Linked DNA regions of Homo sapiens: regions 2, 3, 4, 5 and 6 are each linked to region 1. The links are contacts of gene promoters, found by promoter capture Hi-C in blood cells and fetal thymus (Javierre and others, 2016). All regions are on one chromosome and are shown on one strand. The core of a region is centred on a gene start or on the middle of the fragment in contact, and the rest is flanking DNA. Distances in the headings are between cores, read along the strand shown. Region 1 holds the start of CSGALNACT2 (chondroitin sulfate N-acetylgalactosaminyltransferase 2). Region 2 holds the start of CREM (cAMP responsive element modulator). Region 3 overlaps CREM (cAMP responsive element modulator). Region 4 holds the start of ZNF25 (zinc finger protein 25). Region 5 overlaps ZNF25-DT (ZNF25 divergent transcript). Region 6 overlaps ZNF37A (zinc finger protein 37A).

Evidence for each region. Contacts are between HindIII fragments. The CHiCAGO score rates a contact against its expected background, and 5 or more counts as called.
Region 2: a contact is called between the fragment with the promoter of CREM here and the fragment with the promoter of CSGALNACT2 in region 1, in 6 of 17 cell types (naive CD4 T cells, non-activated CD4 T cells, total B cells and 3 more). The highest score is 10.3, in naive CD4 T cells.
Region 3: a fragment that was not itself captured here is called in contact with the fragment with the promoter of CSGALNACT2 in region 1 in 1 of 17 cell types (M0 macrophages); the score reaches 5.6 in M0 macrophages.
Region 4: a contact is called between the fragment with the promoter of ZNF25 here and the fragment with the promoter of CSGALNACT2 in region 1, in 4 of 17 cell types (naive CD8 T cells, naive CD4 T cells, total CD4 T cells and 1 more). The highest score is 19.1, in naive CD8 T cells.
Region 5: a contact is called between a fragment that was not itself captured here and the fragment with the promoter of CSGALNACT2 in region 1, in 2 of 17 cell types (naive B cells and activated CD4 T cells). The highest score is 8.6, in naive B cells.
Region 6: a fragment that was not itself captured here is called in contact with the fragment with the promoter of CSGALNACT2 in region 1 in 1 of 17 cell types (activated CD4 T cells); the score reaches 7.7 in activated CD4 T cells.

What each region holds. Positions count from the first base shown.
Region 1 is chr10:43,136,827-43,140,243 of GRCh38, reverse strand. It overlaps CSGALNACT2 (chondroitin sulfate N-acetylgalactosaminyltransferase 2), which reads right to left and starts at 1,799. Exons shown (of 8, transcript NM_018590.5): 1 at 1,677-1,799. CSGALNACT2-DT (CSGALNACT2 divergent transcript) reads left to right here and starts at 1,851. Exons shown (of 1, transcript NR_186456.1): 1 at 1,851-3,417. RefSeq lists silencers at 1,263-1,332, 1,443-1,942, 2,113-2,172, 2,303-2,502. The HindIII fragment of the contact is 5,511 bases long and covers 1,127-3,417 here.
Region 2 is chr10:35,125,267-35,128,683 of GRCh38, reverse strand. It overlaps CREM (cAMP responsive element modulator), which reads right to left and starts at 1,838. Exons shown (of 8, transcript NM_183011.2): 1 at 1,491-1,838. It also overlaps a transcript of CUL2 not described here. RefSeq lists an enhancer at 801-870 and silencers at 1,231-1,370, 1,431-1,950. The HindIII fragment of the contact is 8,974 bases long and covers 1-2,351 here.
Region 3 is chr10:35,188,577-35,191,993 of GRCh38, reverse strand. The region is part of intron 6 of CREM (cAMP responsive element modulator); the gene reads right to left. Among named protein-coding and RNA genes, the nearest start is that of LINC02634, 54 kb to the left of the region's middle. The HindIII fragment of the contact is 2,427 bases long and covers 271-2,697 here.
Region 4 is chr10:37,974,744-37,978,160 of GRCh38, reverse strand. It overlaps ZNF25 (zinc finger protein 25), which reads left to right and starts at 1,514. Exons shown (of 6, transcript NM_145011.4): 1 at 1,514-1,655. It overlaps ZNF25-DT (ZNF25 divergent transcript), which reads right to left and starts at 1,406. Exons shown (of 6, transcript XR_930830.4): 1 at 1,156-1,406. RefSeq lists enhancers at 1,271-1,500, 2,541-2,630 and a silencer at 1,541-1,950. The HindIII fragment of the contact is 11,670 bases long and covers 1-3,417 here.
Region 5 is chr10:38,000,880-38,004,296 of GRCh38, reverse strand. It overlaps ZNF25-DT (ZNF25 divergent transcript), which reads right to left. Exons shown (of 6, transcript XR_930830.4): 5 at 524-577; 6 at 1-133. Among named protein-coding and RNA genes, the nearest start is that of ZNF33A, 8.1 kb to the left of the region's middle. The HindIII fragment of the contact is 659 bases long and covers 1,239-1,897 here.
Region 6 is chr10:38,103,452-38,106,868 of GRCh38, reverse strand. All of the region lies in intron 5 of ZNF37A (zinc finger protein 37A), which reads right to left. Among named protein-coding and RNA genes, the nearest start is that of ZNF37A, 11 kb to the right of the region's middle. The HindIII fragment of the contact is 1,064 bases long and covers 1,366-2,429 here.

The DNA of each region.
Region 1 (3,417 bases), core at 550-3,049:
ACAGATGCTCACCAAGACATTTAATTTACAAGAATGTCCACAGTACTCTTTTTTTTTTCTTTTCTTTTTGAGACCGAGTCAGGCTCTGTCGTCCAGGCTGGAGTGCAGTGGCACGATCTCGGCTCACTGCAACCTCCACCTCCCGCCTCAGCCTCCCAAGTAGCTGGGCTTACAGGCGCCCGCCACCACGCCTGGCTAATTTTTGTATTTTTAGTAGAGATGCGGTTTCACCATGTTTGCCAGGCTGGTCTCGAACTCCTGACCAAGTGATCCACCTGCCTCGGCCTCCCCAAGCGCTGGGATAAAAGGCCTGAGCCACCACGCCAGGCCCACAGTATTCTTAATATCCAAAACACATCATATACAAAAATTGGGAACATAAATGTCCATCAACTGAAGAGTAGTCACATATTATTCAATAGACTATTACACAGTAATAATACAATACCATGAAATAGCATGGGTGTGTCCCACAAACAATATGCTGAGAATACTACGTGATTCCATTAACATGAAGCTCAAAACAGAGAAAACTAAAAGCAGATAAGAGAAGTTAGAATACAGATGGGAAAACAAGGATATAACTGACTTGGAAGAAGCACAGGAAAATAGGATGATGGAAATGTTCTATGGTTATAATTTGATATATCTGGTGGTTCCACAGGGTAATAAGTATGTAAAAATTCATTGAGCTGTACAATTAAGATTCGTGCTCTTATTGATTTCATATGTATTTTATGCCTCGACAAAAACAAAGAGAAAAATGCAGCTTCTAAACTGGTTGGAACTGTGTTTATTTAGGCCAAAATCCTCTGAGCCACAAATACTGGAAATCCATCTTTTTTCATTCTTTTAGTTACATGACAACTTTAAACAAATGGTACAAGAACAATAATACAAAATGAACGCTAACACTCAGTCCTAAAATACTTGGCTTCTTACTTCCAAGATCGAAGCTACTATTTTAATACAACATTCAAAAAACAACATTAATTACCAGACATGAAGGCCCTGCTCCCGCGAGCCTTGAATGACGGTGAAACGTCACGACATCCCATATCTATCTCAAAAGCACGCTAGAAAATACCTCCAAGTTTAACAAGCCAAGGACTCAGGAAGAGAAGCTTCAGATGTATAATCAAACTATCATACCGCCAATACCATCATCACAAACAGAAGTATCACTGTCGTGCTTCCTGCGTTGCTCAAGGGTAGAGTCATTTTTAAGGTGCATTCTCCGACAACGCCAGAGGCTCCCCATCTCCTCCGCCCCACTGAGCCCTCCACGACAGAGCATCTTTACCGGCGCTCGCTCTGCCATCTACAGATAAAGAGGGGCTGAGGGCAGAACTATTTTAACGCGATGACGAGGTCACCACTGATTAAAAAGTTTATCCACTGAGAGGAGCAGAGATGGTGATGAATAGGTAAAAACAAAACGAAACAAAACAAAACCCAACACTGACAAGCGAACCAATCGTCTCTGGCCGCGCTTTCCCTAAAACCGGTGCCGACTCCGGCAGGCTCATCCCTGAGAGACAGGGCCCCCCGCAGGACCGGTCCGCTAGGCGACCCCACCCGACCACACAGGAGCCCGCAGCCCCGGCGCCCGCACCGCCCGGGCCGGAGCCGGCGGGAGTCGCGGACCGGCGGGCGAGGCCGGGCCAGGTACTCACCGCGCTCGCCCGCTCTGCGCTCCACCGCCTCCTGCGCCGCGGGGACACCCGGGCGGCGCCTCACGCCTTGGGCCCGCCGCCGCCTCAGCCACCCACCCCCGGGCGCGCCGCCGCGCCTGAGAGGCCACTTCCGGCGCGCGCGAGGAAATGAAGCCGCCGCGCGCCCGCGGCCCCGCCCAGGAAGCTCCGCCACTGGCAGCTGGGTACCGATTCATCACCGACGTGTTTAAAGTATCCGTGTGTGTGCCTCCAAAAACCGTTTGTGGAGACAGCAGAGTGCCCGAGGCAGGAAACCGCTCCGGCCTGGAGGCGCCCCTGCCCGGACTCGTGGACTGCAGCGCTGTCCCGCTCGGAAGCCGATCCTGGGAGTCCGAGCGGGGCCGCGGGGCCTGCGTGGCAGCCGAGTCGAGGGCTTCGGGCCGCGGGGCTGTGGAGCGCCCCTTGGCGCTGGGCCGCCGGCAGCCGTGAGCGCATCACTGCATTTCCCTGGAGGAATTCCTCATCTGTTGAATGAGGGAGTTGAGGCGGACACGCTGGGAAATGGCTTCGAGCTCACACACTGATTTTCGTGAGTGGAAAGAGAAGCCCTTTCTTAGGCGTCTTCCATACCACTGCATGTTCCAGGGTCCTCCCTGGGCTCTCTGTCTCCCACGCCACCGCGAGCACGGCCTAAGCGGGCGAGCGAAGGCGCGACGGCGCCGAGAGCCGGCTGTGGTGGGTGCCGGGCGCGTCACCGCGGGCTGGCGGGGGAGGGGACGCTGGGAAGCTCTCCAGAAAGAGGAGCCGCCACCGAGCAAATTCCCATCTGCCACGCACCGCAGAGCCTCGCCCTCCGCCGCCAGCATTTTCTTTCTTTGTTCTCCTAGCCCTACAAACGCTGGGTTTCCTTTCTCATTCGTGGACTTTTTTCCCTGGATCCTTCTTACTGCTCCTACCCTGTGGCCGCACGTCTGGCAGATGCGCGGCGGGCGCTGCCTGAACCCCCGAATCCTCACAAGCCTCTGTGCAGCGGCCACGGCCCTCAGCTAGCGGCGGGGAGACTGAAGCCGCAGGGTCAGGGTTAGTTGCCACATGTTTTAAATTCCTATCCAAACTTCCATTATAATTGTTTTTATTTATTTATTCATCTATTTTTTGAGACAGGGTCCCGCTCTGTCGCCCAGGCTGGAGTGCAGTGGAGCGATCACGGTTCACTGCAGCCTCCCCACCTCCGACTCCAGCGATCCTCTCGCCTCAGCCTCCCGAGTAGCTGGGACCACAGGTGCATGCCACCATGCCCGGCTAATTGTTAATATTTTTTTTGGTAGAGATGGGGCCTCCCTCTGTTGCCTAGGCTGGCCTTGAACTCCTGGGCTCAAGCGATCTTCCAGCTTCGGCCTCCCAAAGTGCTGGCATTACAGGCGTGAGTCACCCCGCCTGGCAAGAATTGTTGTTTTGAAACTAACTGAGGTTCTCCCATCAATGGATTTAAATTGTTACTTTTTAATGATTTTTTTTTAAGTAGCCAAATACTAAATGTATGTAATTTGAATGTGGAGAGAAGATAATGCATGATTCAAATTATGTGGCTGATCATGGGTGATACACTGGGATATAGTTGTAAAATAAGTAGTTCTCCTAGGGAAAATATTAAAGTACAACTGTGTTGGGTTTAATATCAGAAAAATGTAATTAAAAACATTTCCTGCCAATAATTTCCAATCTGATACTTAAACAAAACAAAACAATAAAAGTTTCCCAT
Region 2 (3,417 bases), core at 589-3,088, 8.0 Mb after region 1:
CGTGGTGGCGGGCGCCTGTAGTCCCAGCTACTCAGGAGGCTGAGGCAGGAGAATGGCGTGAACCCAGGAGGCGGAGCTTGCAGTGAGCTGAGAGCGGACCACTGCACTCCAGCCTGGGCGACAGAGCGAGACCCCGTCTCAAAAAAAAAAAAAAAAAGACTAGGAAAAAAACGTGGCGCTCAAAGCAAAAAACAAAAAAACAACAAATAAAAAACAGCGTGGTTTATTCATGTAATCTGATGCAATGTTCACAGCGGACCTCTCACTGTTCAATCTAGATCTTTGTTTCAAGGGAAAGGTACACCCTCATCTGCCCGGCAAATTAAGTAGAAAGGAAACTGAGTCACGTACGTAAGCCACAGTGTTAAAGGAGCTCTTTCAATTTCAGTGACACTTTGAGACTGGCCCTGTAAGTCCCAATTTCTTAAAATGTGATTACAAACTCACCGCTGCTTCACTGAGCAGCATGCAGGAAACCCCTAAGTGATTTCAAACTCAGGTATCTGATATACAAATAAAACGCAACAGGATCAAGAAACATGCTGAGGCCAGGCGCGGCGGCTCACGCCTGTAATCCCAGCACTTTGGGAGGCCGAGGTGGGTGGAAGGTCAGGAGTTCGAGACCAGCCTGACCAACATGGTAAAACCCCATCTCTACTAAAAATACAAAAATTAGCAGGCGTGGTGGCGCATGCCTGTAATCCCAGCTACTCGGGAGGCTGAGGCAAGAGAATCGCTTGAACCCAGGAGGCAGAGGCTGCAGTGAGCCGAGATCATGCCCCTGCATTCCAGCCTGGGTAACAGCAAGACTCCGTCTCAAAAAAAAAAAGTATGTTTAATAATGTGTTTATTCCCCAGATTCAACAGGCTCTGGAAACCTTACCAGATGGCCCTAAAAAGGCAAGACTCAGGCAGAAGGGAAAATGCGCCTTCCGAGAGCGGTCGCGGCTCTGCCCTTCCCACTCCGGAGACTGCCCGCGCCCGGGACCGAATGACTCAGCTGCGAGGCCCTCCGGCCCAGGTTTTGGGGGAAAACGGGCTGCGTCCGCTTTCGTCTAAACTGCGCTCGTAAAGTGGGGCAGAGGCGCTGGGGGCACTCAAATCCGAGGTCCTTACTTCTGGATTCCTTTTCCTTTTCCGAGTTAAACCGCTCCCCTGAGCCGCACGGCTCTCTCAGGGAGGATTTTCCAACTCGTCCCAAGTTCGCGAGGAGGCAGGCGGGTCCCGGGGCAGCTGAGCGCACGAAGCGGGCGTGGGGCGGCGAGCCGGCGGCCTCGGGGGCGCCGAGCGAGGGGCCGCGTCAGGTGAACTCGCGGCTGCCCCGCCAGTCCTTGGCCCGGCCCCGGGGTCCCGGCCCGCCGCCCACGGCTCCGCTCGGCCTCTGCTGCTCCACCGCACCCGGCTCCGCTCCGCCTCCTGCCTCCACCTCCACCTCCTGCGCCGCGTCGCCCGCTGCTGGGTCTCGGGGCCGGAGCCGACGCACCACTTACCCGCCGCAAAGGGATTTACGTAGCGGACCTCGTCACTGATTACGGACGCGAGGAGGTGGAGACGGCGAGCCCGACCGCCGCTCAGCAGCGGCGCCGCCGCCCAGCAACCCGGAGCCGGCAGCGGCCCCACGTAGTCCTCACGTCAGCTGTGATGCGGTAGCCGCGGCCTCCCTGCCGACCCCGGACCAAAAGTAGCGCTGCAGCCGACCGAACCGCGTCCTCCCGCCCCGTCCTCCCCTCCCCCACGCCGGGACGGCCTCCCGGGGGAGGCCCCGAGGAAAAAAATCCAGGCTCGAACTCCGCCCCCTGCCGGCCGCCAGCAGGAGTGAAGCGCCACAATCCAACAATGAAATGGAACCGGGGAGGGGCGGCGGGAAGGTGCGGGTCAGGGGGCGGGGCCTAGGGATAGGGAGAAGGAAGGTCAGGGGGCGGGGCCAAGAGGAGGAACTAGCCTGGAGGTGGGGCGGAAGGTAGGGGCGGGGGCAAGGCTGGAAACCGGAAGCTGCCCGTGCCGCGCCGCGCGTGCGCCAGAAATCCAATGACTTGTCAGCCAGAGTAACGGCTGTTGTCAGGTCTTCAGGGTCTCGAGGTCGGTTTCTTCCTAACGCCGCCAACCCCAAGCTAAGGTCCGCGAGCGTCTCACCTCTGTCCAGGCTGGGCTGCAGTGGCGTGGTCTCGGCTCTCTGCAACCTCTATCTCCCCAGGCTCAAGCGATCCTCCGGCCTCAGCCTCCTGAGTAGCTGGGACTGCAGGCGTGCTTCTTCTGACTTCTAAAAGCTATCTACATACCTTGACTAGTGGCCCTTTTCCTCCATATTCACAGCCAGTCACAGCTGGTTGAGTCCTTCTCCAAAAGAAGCTTGAGCTCCTGAGACAATTCACCTGCTTCTTAGGGTCATTTATTGCAGTTTATCCCAGTATTTGACTGGAAATGGTCCGCATGCTGGGCCCGCTGGCTCGGGCCTGTAATCCCAACACTTCGGGAGGCCAAGGTGGGAGGATCGCTTGAGCCCAGGAGACCAGCCTAGGGAACACAGTGAGACTTCATCTCTTTTTTTTTTTTTAGATTAGAAAGGTCGGCCGGGGGCTCACGCCTGTAATCCCAGCATTTTGGGAGGCAGACATGGGCAGATCACCTGAGGTCAGGAGCAGCCTGGCCAACATGGTGAAACCCCATCTCTACTAAAAATACAAAAATTAGCTAGGAGTGGTGGCAGACGCCTGTAGTCCCAGCTAGTTGGGAGGCTGAGGCAGGAGAATCGCTTGAACCTGGGAGGTCAAGGCTGCAGTGAGCTGAGATCGTTCCACTGCACTCCAGTCTGGGTGACAGAGCGAGGCTCCATCTCAAAAATAAAAAAAGTAATGGGATATCAGGAATAAAGAATAGCAGCATGGTTATAGAGTACAGTAGGTCCTCACTTAACGATAGGTTCTTAGAAATCATGGCTTTAAGCCAAACAACTTACAGCAGGTCCACAAAAAAATTTTCATTCAGTGTTGTTTTCATTTCGTTATAATATTGATGATAACAAAAATCGGTTTCATTGTACGTTGTTTCACTGAAAACCAGTTTCTAAGAAGCTATTGACAATGTTAAGTGAGGATTTATTATTTCATATCAGTTACTGTAGTGTCAGAGTGTTTTCATAATTTTCACTGAGCAGGACTTAATCTAAATCCAATCTGAACCTTTGTTCAAATCTAATTTTCGTAGGTCAAAGGGAATGTATCCACAACAATTGTCTCTGTAACAGGAGTTCATATGAATCAAAAAGAATCAAAGGAATGGCAATTTCTTATTTGCAAAGTATTTGCTCTACGGTTTCCTTTCTTGCCAGTATTTTACTCCCATATGTATGTAGTCTTAATTATAAAGTTCAGAAAGCACAAACCATATTTTTTTGTTCATCTGTTTTTTTACAAAGAT
Region 3 (3,417 bases), core at 235-2,734, 7.9 Mb after region 1:
CTTTGAATGGAGACTGGGAAGAATACTGGACAACACCTAGGTTTCTGGCATCAAGGATAGTAGTGGTCAATCACTGAAGATAGGAAGAGTGGATTTTAGGAGTCAGAGGTATGTGTGGCCATCTAAGGAACCAGCTGGAGTCAGGACATAGTCACAGTGAACTGAAGCCAGCGTGGGAGGGAGTCCTTCAGGGAGGGAGCTCAGCAGGAAGAGGGTGGGGGAGTGAGCCTGAGGATCACTGAAACACTCAGGACAGGGGCAGGGGAAGCTTAGCCCAGCAACAGGACTGACAGAGAAGCAGCAGAGAGAGAAGAGCAAGGAGGACACAGTCTCAGGAAGTGGAGGAAGCAGAAGTCGACAGTGTTAAATACTGCTGAGGCATCAGCCAAGACAGGCACTGAGAATCCACAAAGAAGCTGACAGGGCCCTTCAGTGAGATGAAGGGAGAAGGAGGGCAGGGAACACTGCCACTAAGTTCAGGAAGACAAGAATGCCCACTGGCCTTGCTGTGTTTAAACTGGAGCTCCTGGCCATGATTATTTAAGGAAAAGAAAAAAAGAGAAAAAGAAAACAGGAATAAAGATTGGAAGGGAGGAAACAAAACATCACTATTTGTATAAACATTCACATAGGATCACAGACCGAATCACAAAGAATCAGTAAATTATTAGAAGTAATTAGAGTTCAGCAAAGTTAATAGATAAAAGATCGACTTAAAATAATCCGTATTTCTCTACACCAGCAACAATTAGAAAATACAATACAAAATAAGGTACCATTGTAATGGCAACAAAACCCATAAAGTACTTAGGAACCAACTAAAGAAAGAATATGCAAGATCTCCGTGAAGAAAAATGTTCAACTGTTCCCTAAAACTTAAAGTATAATAAATAAATAAATAAATAAAAAGAAAAATGTTCAACTGTTAAAAGAAGTAAAATGAGATCTGAATAAACAAGACTTTCTATGGTTTGGGATAGGTCAACTTAACATTATGAAGACTTCAGCTCTCCCTAAATTAAATGCAGTCTTGGCTGGGCATGGTGGCTCATGCCTGTAATCCCAGCACTTCGGGAGGCTGAGGTGGGCGGATCATGAGGTCAGGAGATCGAGACCATCCTGGCGAACATGGTGAAACCCTGTATCTACTAAAAATACAAAAAAATTAGTCGGACATGGTGGCAGGCGCCTGTAGTCCCAGCTACTTGGGAGGCTGAGGCAGAAGAATGGCGTGAACCCGGGAGGTGGAGCTTGCAGTGAGCCATCGTGCCACTGCACTCCAGGCAGGGCAACAGAGCGAGACTCCATCTCAAGAAAAAAAAAATTAATGCAGTCTCATCATTGGTTTTATTATTATTATTATTACTACTACTATTTAGAAACTCAAACTTATTCCAAATGCATATGAAAGAATAATCGTGCACAAAAAACTAACTCTGTATCAAACTGAGAAAAAAGACAAGGGGAACTTGTTTTATGAGATAACAAACATGTATGGCGCTGGGATTCAGAAAAAGATGAATCAGACAGAAGACTGGCCAGATCCAGGTGCAAAAGCAAACCCACTGTCTAATTAAGGCTGCCCCATACACCAGTGAGGAAACAACAAACCCTTGGGAGTGGCTCCATATACGGAGAAAAAAGTTAAAAATGAATTCCCACCAAATACTATATACAGAAGTGAAGCCCAGATACATTAAAGACATAAATGTGAAAGGTAAAACCATAAAGCAAATAGAAGAAAATGTGGAAAAAAATCTTTGTGACTTGTGGAAGAAAATTCTTAAAAACCCCAAGGCACAAACTTACGTGCATATTGTGTAAAACATTAAAAATTCTCAAAACTCTGTTGTTTGCAGTAGATTCTTCCATGTAACAAAGATAAAATGAGAAGAAATAATTATTCTTTAAGATTATTCACCTAGACATAAATATGGTCCATGAGTATGGGGGGAATAGAACAGGTGGCTTTCATTTTACATTTCAAGAAAACATTAAAGTACTGGGTTTGTACTATGCATTTTTTACTCCATAAATGCCACCACCTCAGTTCTTCACACACTTTTACCATAGTCCACATTAACCCCCAAAATACCTGAGTATAATTATCAAGAGACTCATCAATTATAATATGCTTATCATACCTGCAAGACATTCGAACTAAAATAACTGATTTTACTTTCCTTAACGTTAGTGCTGCCTGTAATCCCAGCACTTTGGGAGGCCAAGGTGGGTGGACTGCCTGAGCTCAGGAGTTCACGACCAGCCTGGGCAATACGGTGAAACCCCGTCTCTACTAAAATACAATAAATTAGCCGGGCATGGCGTTATGCACCTGTAGTCCCAGCTACTCGGGAGGCTGAGGCAGAAGAATTGCTTGAACCTGGGAGGCGGAGGTCGCAGTGAGCCGAGATCGCGCCACTGCACTCCAGCCTGGGCAACAGAGCGAGACTCTGTCTCAAAAATAAATAAATAAATAAATAAATAAACAAACAAACAAACAAGCAAGCAAATTTTTAAAAAATAGTGCTATATCCTAAATCCTAAGCGAATGGACCAAGAGGAATAGAATTCAATTAAAACACAGGAGTTTTGAAAGCTGTATTAAATACATCTATTACAGTTATCATAGGCACAACTGAATTAAAATAATGTATAACGCAAATCCAGTTGAAATCTCAGGTAACCCTAAAAGCTTAGGGCTACATCTCAACTTTTATTTCATTACTGACAGCTTCCATAAGAGCTAGAATGGATACTTCAGAATTCAAACAACTAAGAACAGTCAGTCAAAAAAACAAACAAACAAAAAAAAACAAAAAACCCAAAGTCAGCATTTGTTTTGAAATGAGTTGCCTAGAAATTAGACTTGAAAGTAACAGCTAGGGAAAAAAACAAATTTGGGGCATCATAGCCTGAATACTTAAATTGTCATAGATTAGGTAATAGAAATCTATTAGGTACAACATTTGCAACCCCCAAATGAAGGATATCTAATTAATTTAAAAATTCATTCATGTGGCCGGGTGCGGTGGCTCACGTCTGTAATCCCAGCACTTTAGGAGGCTGAGGCCTCCACCTGAGGTCAGGACGACTCCATCTGAGGTCAGGAGTTTGAGACCAGCCTGCCCAACATGGTGAAACCCCGTCTCTACTAAAAATACAAAAATTAGCCAGGCGTGGTGGCTCATGCCTGTAATCCCAGCTCCCCGGGAAGCTGAGGCAGAAGAATCACTTGAACCCAGGAGACAGGTTGCAGTGAGCCGAGATCACGCCATTGTACTCCAGCCTGGGCGCCAGAGCGAGACTCCATCTCAAAAAAAAAAAAAAAAAATTCATTCATGTTTCTATCTCTCTTTTTCTATCATGCTACTCTGAATTTGGCCTTTCTCCAGAGCCAGTAAAACCTGCTAAAAG
Region 4 (3,417 bases), core at 265-2,764, 5.2 Mb after region 1:
ATGGCCTTGGGTCATGTCTTTGAAATGTAAGCATCAAGGAAGATTGCACCCCATCTCCCTGCCTCTGTGGTAAACTCCTAGGCTCCTGGCTACCCGCGGTTAACTACCTGCGTGTCATAGAGATACCAGAAACTTTACTTTTCATTTGCATAATGGCAATTAACTAACACTGATGGCTACCCTAATTATCAGGTGAATTTCAGATGAATTATGCATAGCAAATGTTGCTGTACAGTCATCTTACTTGAGGACAAGTTATTTTTACCTTGAGGAAATAGAATGCGTTGTACCAGACCGGCTAATACAAAAAATGATAGTTCTTCCTGTCTTCATAAACTCATTAGTGGGTTGCCTGTGACGCACATCGCAGTCTGGTTTAATGTTTATTCAATAATGTAACTGTTTTGTTCTTTTCTCCATCTGTGGAGAGAATTTTCTGGGTTGGCAAGAGGCTTTATTTTAAATTATTTCCTCAATACTTCCCATCCAGAAAGGTGGTGTGTGTGTGTGTATTATGTGCGCATATTTTTATATGTATATATATGTGTGTTTATACACATGACAATATATACGTTTTTTTCTAGATGATTCTACATGTTTTAATGTAATAAAGTTATTGACCAGGAAATATATAATTTGTTTTACATATACAGCCAAGTCCTCTCTCTGTATCCGCGGGGGATTAGTACCAGGACCTCCCTGGATTACTCAAATCCAGGGATGTTCAAGTCTCTGGTAGAAAATAACCTGATATTTGCATAACCTACACACCTCCTCCTGTATATTTTAAATTATGTCTAGATTAATTGTACACCTAACACAATGTAAATACTATGTAAATAGTTTTATTGTATTGTTTAGGGTATAATGACAAGGGGGAAACTTTGTACATGTTCAGTAAGATAGAATTTTTAAGTATTTTCATTCTGAGCTTAGTTGAATCCATAGATATGCACCCCCAGGATAAGGAGGGATGACTATATATATTCCTTAGTGAAATGATAGTCATGATACTCTATACCATTAGGTTAAAATTTGTGTAAATTCATGAGAAGGATGTTCACCTAACATTAAGCGCTTTTGCTTTTGGGAAGTGGTATACTCGTTTTCTGTTTTAGCTTATACATATTTTGTAGTTTATTACGTTTCGCGTACCGTTTGCACAATTGTGAAAGCTAGCATTCCTAAGAGGAAGCGGTTACAGGGCATTATCCTTCATTACTCCACGTACTCCTGTACCCACGGAGTTCAATCACTTTAACAAAACTGCCCATCAGTGTTCCTTGGAGCACCTCACGGTGGATTTCTGTCTTCAAGCCCAGACGTGCAGGGTGCAGCTCTCCGGCCATCACTGAGCAAGGACAGCGCCCTCTCCCGGAAACCCGACAGCAATCACTCAGGCCGCTGGAGGCGGCCGCGCCTCACGACGTCATCCAAGATGGAGTCGCAGCCGGGCCTTCTGGGAAGCGTAGTTCTGGAGTAGGGCTAGGGAAACGTTCTGCGCATGTGCAGTGTCTTCTTTCTGGCATTGGCGTTTTTTTGGTCTTACGCCCTAGGGTGGGGAGAGGACTCCGGTGCCTCCGGGTCTGGGCTGGGCCGCAAAGGGCGGGGCCTGGGCCCGGCGCGGGCCGGGAGCAGAGGCCGAGACCCTGCAGGTGTGTCGAAGGCTTTTGCGGGCGGGCAGGGCCTGGGAGGCGGGGTCTCGAGCCTGGAAGCCGCCTCCTGGCCCCGGAGCGGCCTCCGCGGAGGGCCCTGGGTGGGAGCCGCCTGGTGGGGAGGTTGGCTGGCTGCGCTGGCGCCCCTGCCCGGAATGGCGTTTGCGCGACCTGCTTGAGGGGCGGCCAGAGGAGGCCTGCGGTGCTGGGCAGTGGGCGCCCGGAGCAGCCGCATTGTGTGACGTGACCGGAGCCGCCATGTGAGGCGCGCTGGCCGCTGCAGACGCGGCGCTCCAAAGCCGCAGGGACGTGGGCTCTGGTCCAGCGTCTGTAGGTGGTCCCAGTGCGGCTCGACGCGCATCTGGCAAATGATGGGGGCCTTTGGGTACTGAATAGGGTAATAGATGTAAAGTATGATACAGGACTCAATAAAGGTGAGCTGCTTCTATTATTACAAAACATGCTGTTTTCATTATTGGCTCATTTAATCATCGTAACCATCCTTTCGACTTAACCATCTCTATTAAAATAAATGTGACTATTAAAGATTCAGAGAGAGAAATCCGTTTACCCACAGTATTAGCAGGTGGGATGTAAATCCTCACTTTTTCCTCTGAGTTAATGCGCCTTGCCACACTAAAATCCAGTCTTGACTTGTATTTAGCACAGCATTTGCCCCTTGAGCACCACCAGAACGTAGCTGTGTGGTGTACTTGAACCCAGTCTCAACCAGGTAGTGTTCTGTTTCCAAAAATGCTTGGGGAATCTTCAGAGCACTTGAGTCAAAAGGTGAATTATTTAAGGCCTTCCTGCATCCTCCAACCTTAGTCTCTTCTCAGAGGACTGTGAAACGTGTAAATTGAAACCACAATTTGAGCCCTCAATTTTGCATTTTACAGGAGAAGCTGGGAATCCCATCCAGCCCAGAGGCTAGTTTCTAAAGACAGGAAATGGGACAAAAAATTTTTTTAAAGATGAAAACTGCAGTTCATCAGTTCCTCCATTTTATGGTGGTGATCTTATAATGCCTCTCATTGGCTGATAACTGAGCTTAGGCATTTCGTAAGCACCATGCTAGCTGGAAGTGGTTTTTGCTGCTTATTTTAGTTTTTTTTTTTGGTACATAATGTACATATTTGTGGGGTACATGTGATATTTTGATATATGCATACAATGTGTCATGATCAAATCGGGGTAATTACAATATCCACCGCCTCATTTATCATTTCTTTGTGTTGCAAATATTCGAAATCTTCTAGCTATTCTGATAGCTAATAAATTATTGCTAACACTTGTAACCATACTGTGCTATTGAACACTAGGACTTAATCCTTCTACCTAACTGTATTTTTGTACCCATTAACCAACCTCTCTTCATTCCTCACTCCCTACTTCCCTTCGCAGCCTCTGGTAACCATCATTCTACATCGTATCTTCATGAGATCAACTATCTTAGCTCCTGCGTATGAGTGAGAACATGATATTTGTCTTTCTGTGCCTGGCTTATTTCATGTAACATAATGCCCTCCAGTTCCATCTTTGTTGCTGCAATGACAAAATTTCCTTCTTTTTATGTCTGAATAATATTCCATTGTGTATATATACCACAATTTTCATTATCTATTCATGCATTGATGGGTACTTAGGTGGATTCTGTATCTAGACTATTGTGAATAGTGCTGCGATAAAAATGGGAGTGCAGAGATATCTTCAATATACGGATTTCCCTTCTTTTGGATATATATATAGCAGTGAGATTGCT
Region 5 (3,417 bases), core at 319-2,818, 5.1 Mb after region 1:
GCAGTTCCTATGTGAACTTCCAGAAAGGCATGTTGAGGCATATTGTGTTCACCTCTGAGAGTCATTACTGTCCAGCTAGTGCTGGTAGCCAGAGTGGGATCAATGTGGAGAGTTCTGGGAGAACTAAAAGAAGCTGAAGGGTGATCAAAATGTTCTGGAATTAGATAGTGGTGATGGTTGTACAACTTTGTGACTATAATTATTATTGAATTACACACTTTTAAGGGAGTAATTTTTGTATGTAAATTGTATCCCAAATTTACAAATACTTTTTTTTTTTTTTGAGACGGAGTCTAGCTCTGTCACCAGGCTGGAGCGCAGTGGCATGATCTCAACTCACTGCAACCTCCAATGAAGAAGGAATTCATGAATTTTGCAAGTATAATCAAAGACCACCAAGAAATTTTTACTTTTTCCTTCTAAGCTAAGTGTAGTATAGCCCCCACCCCCATAGTCTAAGTTAGAGAAGAATACTAACTGCCTGGTTTTCCTTCTGTGCTCAGCAAGCCTTATCTGTACTCACCAGTTTCCCATTCCTTGGGGCTCAGTGAATTCCTGCTTCACCTCCCTAGTGCAGCTGCAAAGTTACAAGGTTGATAAGTATATGTTACAGAAACATTGTTTCCCAAGGATGTGGAACAAGTAGTATAGGTAAATGTAAAAGACTGATCAACTGCCTTTGTTCTCACTTCTGTAAGTACACTTCCTGCATCACATAGCTCCTGGCCACTGGAAGCTTAAAAGGAGGCTGCATTCTTTGTCCAGGGTTCAGACTTTCCTGGACACTAGTCCTACTGAGCCAGGTGATCAACTTAATAAAGGCTTTCCTGAATTCTGTTCGGTCTCTCCCATCTCTGATTGTCCCGTAACATATCTGGGGGCCTGTCTGGGATTGGAGATGGCAGGTTTCTGTCTCCTTTGCCTGTGGGCTAGAGCCACAGGATGCAGGAGATTTGGGACCCTTGGTGCCACTGGGTAAGACTTAGCCCAGAAGGAGAATGGCTCTCCTGTTTATTGGAGCCTTCCCCTGACAGTGCAAACGCAACCGACTCGGGAGTTGCGGGACAGTCACAGGAGCAGCACAGAGGCAGACTACTGAACTGCGGTAAGGTTGGGCCCTGGAAAAGTCCGTCCCATAAGGACAGAAGGGGAGCTTGATCACCTTCCTGGGAATGACCACTTATCCACCCCAGAGTGGCTGGGGGTGGCAGGAGTGGCCTACCAATTTGGATGAAGCTTGTGTCCCCACTAACAAGTGAAAGTAGTTCACTGGATCTGGAACTCCTCTCTGGTTTTCACTTACCATCTTCAAACTGGGTCAATCTACTCTACCACCCAGGGTTCTGAAAATAAAATGTAGGAGCCCCTAGCCCAAGGCCTACCTGGAATATTGTAATTCCTCATTAAATGTGCTTTAAGTATTATATCAGGTTCTCCAGAGAAACTAAGTGTGTGTGTGCATGTGTGTGTGTGTGTTTGTATACTTGCATATATACATGTGTATATATTTACATATGTGTATATATATGAGAGAGATTTATCATAAGGAATTGGCTTATGCAATCATGCAATTATGGAGGTTGACAACTCTCAAGATCTGAAGGATGATGAGTCCATGTTTGGGGACCCAGGAGAGCCAGTTGTGTAGTTCCAGGCTGAAGGCCTGCAAGCATGAGGCCCAGGAAGAGCAGATCTTTCAATTCAAGTCCTAAGGCAGGAAAAAGCTAATGTGTCAATAAGAAGGCTTGTTTTATTCAATCCTTCAACTGACCAGATGAGGCCCACTCACATCAGGAAGACAGTCTACTCAGCCTACCAGTTATGTTTTCTCTTGTTTTAGTGGGGGCTTTTGCTGTTTTTCTTTGAGGGGGGGAGTTATTTTTAGCATAACTAAGCTTTTTATGTTTTTAACTTTGTTTGATTTTAGATTCAGGAGTACATGTGCATGTTTGCTACATGGGCATATTGTGAACTGGTGGGGATTGGACTTTTAGTGTACCCATTACCTAAATAGTCAACATTATCCAAATAGTGAGTCCTCACCCCTTTCCACCCTCCCCCCTTTTGGAGTCCACAGTTGTCTATTATTTCCATCTTTGTGTCAATTTGTACCGATTGTTTAGCTCCCACTTATAAGTGTGAATATGCAGTATTTGGTTTTCTGTTTCTGAGTTACTCTGCTTATGATAATGGCCTCCAGCTCCATCCATATTGTGGCAAAGGACATAATTTCATTCTTTTTAAAGGCTGGGTAATATTCTGTGGCACATATGTACCATATTTTATTTATTCAGTCAACTGTTGATGGACACTTAGCTTGGTTCCATAATTTTGATATCGTGAATAGTGCTGCTAGGAATATATAAATGCTGGGTTTTATTTGTTTGTTTTTGAGACAGGGTCTCACTCTGTCACCCAGGCTCGAGTGCAGTGGTGCTTTCCTGGCTCACTGTAACCTCAACCTCCTGGGCTCAAGGGATCCTTCTGCCTCAATCTACCAAGTAGCTGGGACGACAGGCACATGCCATCACACTTGGCTAATTTTTGTATATTTTGTAGAGATAGGATTTTGCTATGTTACCCAGGCTGGTCATGAACTGCTGGGCTCAAGGGATCTGCCCCCCTCAGCCTCCCAAATTGCTAGGATAATAGGCTTGAGCTACACTTTTTTTTTTTTTCTGAGATGGAGTCTTGCTCTCTCGCCCAGGCTGGAGTGCAGTGGCTTGATCTCAGCTCACTGCAACCTCTGCCTCCTGGGTTCAAACACTTCTCCTGCCTCAGCCTCCCAAGTAGCTGGGACTACAGGTGCCTGCCAACATGCGCAGCTAACTTTTTTTTTTTTTTATATACTTTAAGTTTTAGGGTACACGTGCACATTGTGCAGATTAGTTACATATGTATACATGTGCCATGCTGGTGCGCTGCACCCACTAACTCGTCATCTAGCATTAGGTATATCTCCCGATGCTATCCCTCCCCCCTCCCCCGACCCCACAACAATCCCCAGAGTGTGATATTCCCCTCCCTGTGTCCATGTGATCTCATTGTTCAATTCCCACCTATGAGTGAGAATATGCGGAGTTTGGCTTTTTGTTCTTGCGATAGTTTACTGAGAATGATGATTTCCAATTTCATCCATGTCCCTACAAAGGACATGAACTCATCATTTTTTATGGCTGCATAGTATTCCATGGTGTATATGTGCCACATTTTCTTAATCCAGTCTATCATTGTTGGACATTTGGGTTGGTTCCAAGTCTTTGCTGTCGTGAATAATGCCGCAATAAACATACGTGTGCCTGTGTCTTTATAGCAGCATGATTTATAGTCCTTTGGGTATATACCCAGTAATGGGATGGCTGGGTCAAATGGTATTTCTAGTTCTAGATCCCTGAGGAATTGCCACACTGACTTCCA
Region 6 (3,417 bases), core at 648-3,147, 5.0 Mb after region 1:
TTTGGTCTTTTCACATAGTCCCGTATTTCTTGGAGGCTTTGTTCGTTCCTTTTCATTCTTTTTTCTCTAATCTTGTTTTCTCACTTTATTTCATTAATTTGATCTTCAATCTCTTATGTCCTTTCTTCCACTTGATTGATTCAGCTATTGATACTTATGTATGCTTCACGAAGTTCTTGTGCTGTGTTTTTCAGCTCCATCAGGTGATTTATGTTCTTCTCTAACCTGGTTATTCTAGTTAGCAATTTGTCTATCCTTTTATCAAGATTCTTAGCTTCCCTGCATTGGATAGAACATGCTCCTTTAACTTGGAGGAGTTAGTTATTATTACCCACCTTCTGAAGCCTACTTCTGACAATTTGTCAAACTCATTCTCTGTCCAGTTTTGTTCCCTTGCAGGCAAGGAGTTGTGTGGAGGAGTGTGTTGGAGGAGAAGAGGTGTACTGGTTTTTGGAATTTTCAGCCTTTTGTGCTGGTTTCTCCCCATCTTCGTGGATTTATTTACCTTTGGTGTTTGATGTTGGTGACCTTCAGATGGGGTTTCTGAATGGATGTCCTTTTTGTTGATGTTGATGTTATTCCTTTCTCTTTGTTAGTTTTCCTTCTAATAGTCAGGCCCCTCTGCTGCAGGTCTGCTGGAGTTTGCTGGAGGTCCACTCCAGACCCTGTTTGCCTCGGTATCACCAGTGGAGGCTGCCAAACAGCAAAGACTGCTGCCTGTTCCTCCACATAATAAAGCACATATACAAAAAACTCATAGGTAACATACTCCACAGTGAAAGACTGAAAGATCCCCCCCTAAGATCATGAACAGGCAATGATAGTGCTTTCACACCACTGCAATTCAACACTGTATTAAAAGTTCTAGCCAGAGCAAATAGGCAAGAAAAAAAAAATAAAAGACATTCAAATTGAAAGGCAGAAGTAAAACTACTCTATTTGCAGATAACATTATTTAGCATATAATCCACAAAACATCTATGAGCTAACAAATAGTTTTGGCATAGTTGCAGAGTACAAAATCAACACACAACAATTAGGTTTTTTTAAAAAAAATACTCCAACAATGAACAATCCAAAAGGAAATTCAGAAAATAATTCCATTTATGGTAGTATTCAGTAAAATAAAATACTTAGTGCTATGGTCTGAATGTATGTCCCCTTCACAACTTCATATGTTGAAATCTAATACCATTGCAATAGTATGAAGCGGCATGGCCTTTAGGAGGTGATTAGGAAGCTCTGCCTTCATGAATGGGATAAGTGTCCTTATAATTTAATGGACAAAGTAGTGGCTTGACAACCTATAGAGACAGGTTTAGATACTGTGCTGCTAATAATCAGAAATTTTATTTTTGATAAGCTTACATAAAGTAATGATGTTTTTCCAAAAATAAGAAGACTTAGTCAAATGGCCCCTTTTAACTTCTAAAATGTTTTAATACATCAAATCTGATTTGAATATTTAATATAGCAACTATGGATAATTCCAGGAATGGTGATCTAAGGGATCAAACCAGAGCTGAGGAGACAGGTAGCACTGGCAGGTAAGAGATTAGATACAGGCTGGGCACGGTGGCTCACATCTGTAATCCCAACACTTTGTTAGGCCAAGGTGGGCAGATCACCTGAGGTCGGGAGTTCGAGACCAGCCTGACCAACATGGAGAAACCCTGTCTCTACTAAAAATACAAAATTAGCCAGGCATGGTGGCACATGTCTGTAATCCCAGCTACTTGGGAGGCTGAGGTAGGAGAATCACTTGAACCCAGAAGGCGGAGGTTGCGGTGAGCTGAGATCATGCCATTGCATTCCAGCCTGGGCACCAAGAGCAAAACTCCATCTCAAAAAAAAAAAAAAAGAAAAAATATTGGATGCAAACAGGGAGAAGGAGCAAATAAATATTGTGGATAATGGTATAGCCTGGTTTCTCACTGTTGAAGAAAGAAGTTACAAAGATGGAAAACAGAAAGGCTATGGGGTTAAGATTGAAACTGGGAAATGTCTACGTAAACTCATTGTTTAAAAAATATGTATAGACAGACCAATACAAAAATAGGTGTACACATGTGTATTTCTGTGTGTGTGTGTGTATGTATACATACACACATGTATTTCCTAACTGTCAATTGAGAGGGATTGAGGCAGTGACAACCTTTAGCAATAAGCACCCAGATCTTGGTTTTTAAATTCCATCCTCCACTAGAAAGAACAATGTCCTTTGGAGAAATGGCTAATGGTAGAGGTACTGCAGGAAAAGGACAAGATGGGCCAGGCACATCTGTTGTTCCACAGAGTAATTACTCAAAAACTGATGTGGGGGGTAGGCTGAAAATGGAAAAGGTAACTCCAAAACTCCATCCCAAACTAAAGCAACAATTAAGCTGGGGAAGAAAAAAAAAACAAAAAACACCTCTCAGCATCAAGCTTTTCAGAATTCTCCAATCTAATTAAAAACCTAGTACACCCAGAACATTCCTGGTATGACTTGCTGATGCCTGTGCCAACGTGGACAGTATGCACCTTGTTTTCAGAGAACTGTAGTTGTGTATTTTGATCTGTCTATGCGGGCTCTCTGAAGAAGTGGCTCACAGGCTTGTCTTTGTTTTGCCTTCCTTGAAACTTTCTCAGGGCTAGTCTTCCAGGAAGTGCTTGTTGAAAGCATTTAAAGGCAATTATCTGGCCACAGTAGCCAGATGAGAAAAGCAGCAGATGGACTGAAAAACTGGGAATGTAAAAACTGGGAAGGAAACACATGGGGCCAGGGGTGGGGATAAGGGGTTTGAAAAGCTCCTGCATAAAGCAGGGAATTGAGATCATGTGTAAGTCCAAGACAATATGCATGCTCAGAAAAAACCTGAGAGGAACCTAAGCTTTCACATCTGGTTGACCTTCACGCTCTGTGTAAGCAGGAAGTAAAGGTTAATGCAGAGATGTAAATGGCCTGGCAAGCCATTACAGGAGCGCCCTAAAACAGGGCCAATATGCACAGACCAGAAGAGTTTTTTGTTTTGTTTTGGCTCTAGGCATTTAAAGAAATCTCTGTCAAATCACAGACGACCACTAAACTAATAGAACAGAGGTTTCAGTGACCATGTACAACAAAGAACACTGACTTTACAAAAATAGTTTATAAAAGTCACAAAATAAGCAAATAATACAAAATAAACAGCAACAACAAATTCTGAGGAAAAGAATCTGATTTCTAGAATTAGCACATTTTAATATTCAAAATGTTCAGTTTTCAATAAAAAATTATGAGGCATGCAAAGAAGATAATATGACCCACAGACACACAGAAAAAAGAAATAAAACCTGTACTCAAAGACACCTTTGATACTGGTCTTACTAGATAAAGAATTTAAATCATCTGTTCTAAATGTGCTCAAAGAGCTAAATGAAAGCAGACAAAGAACT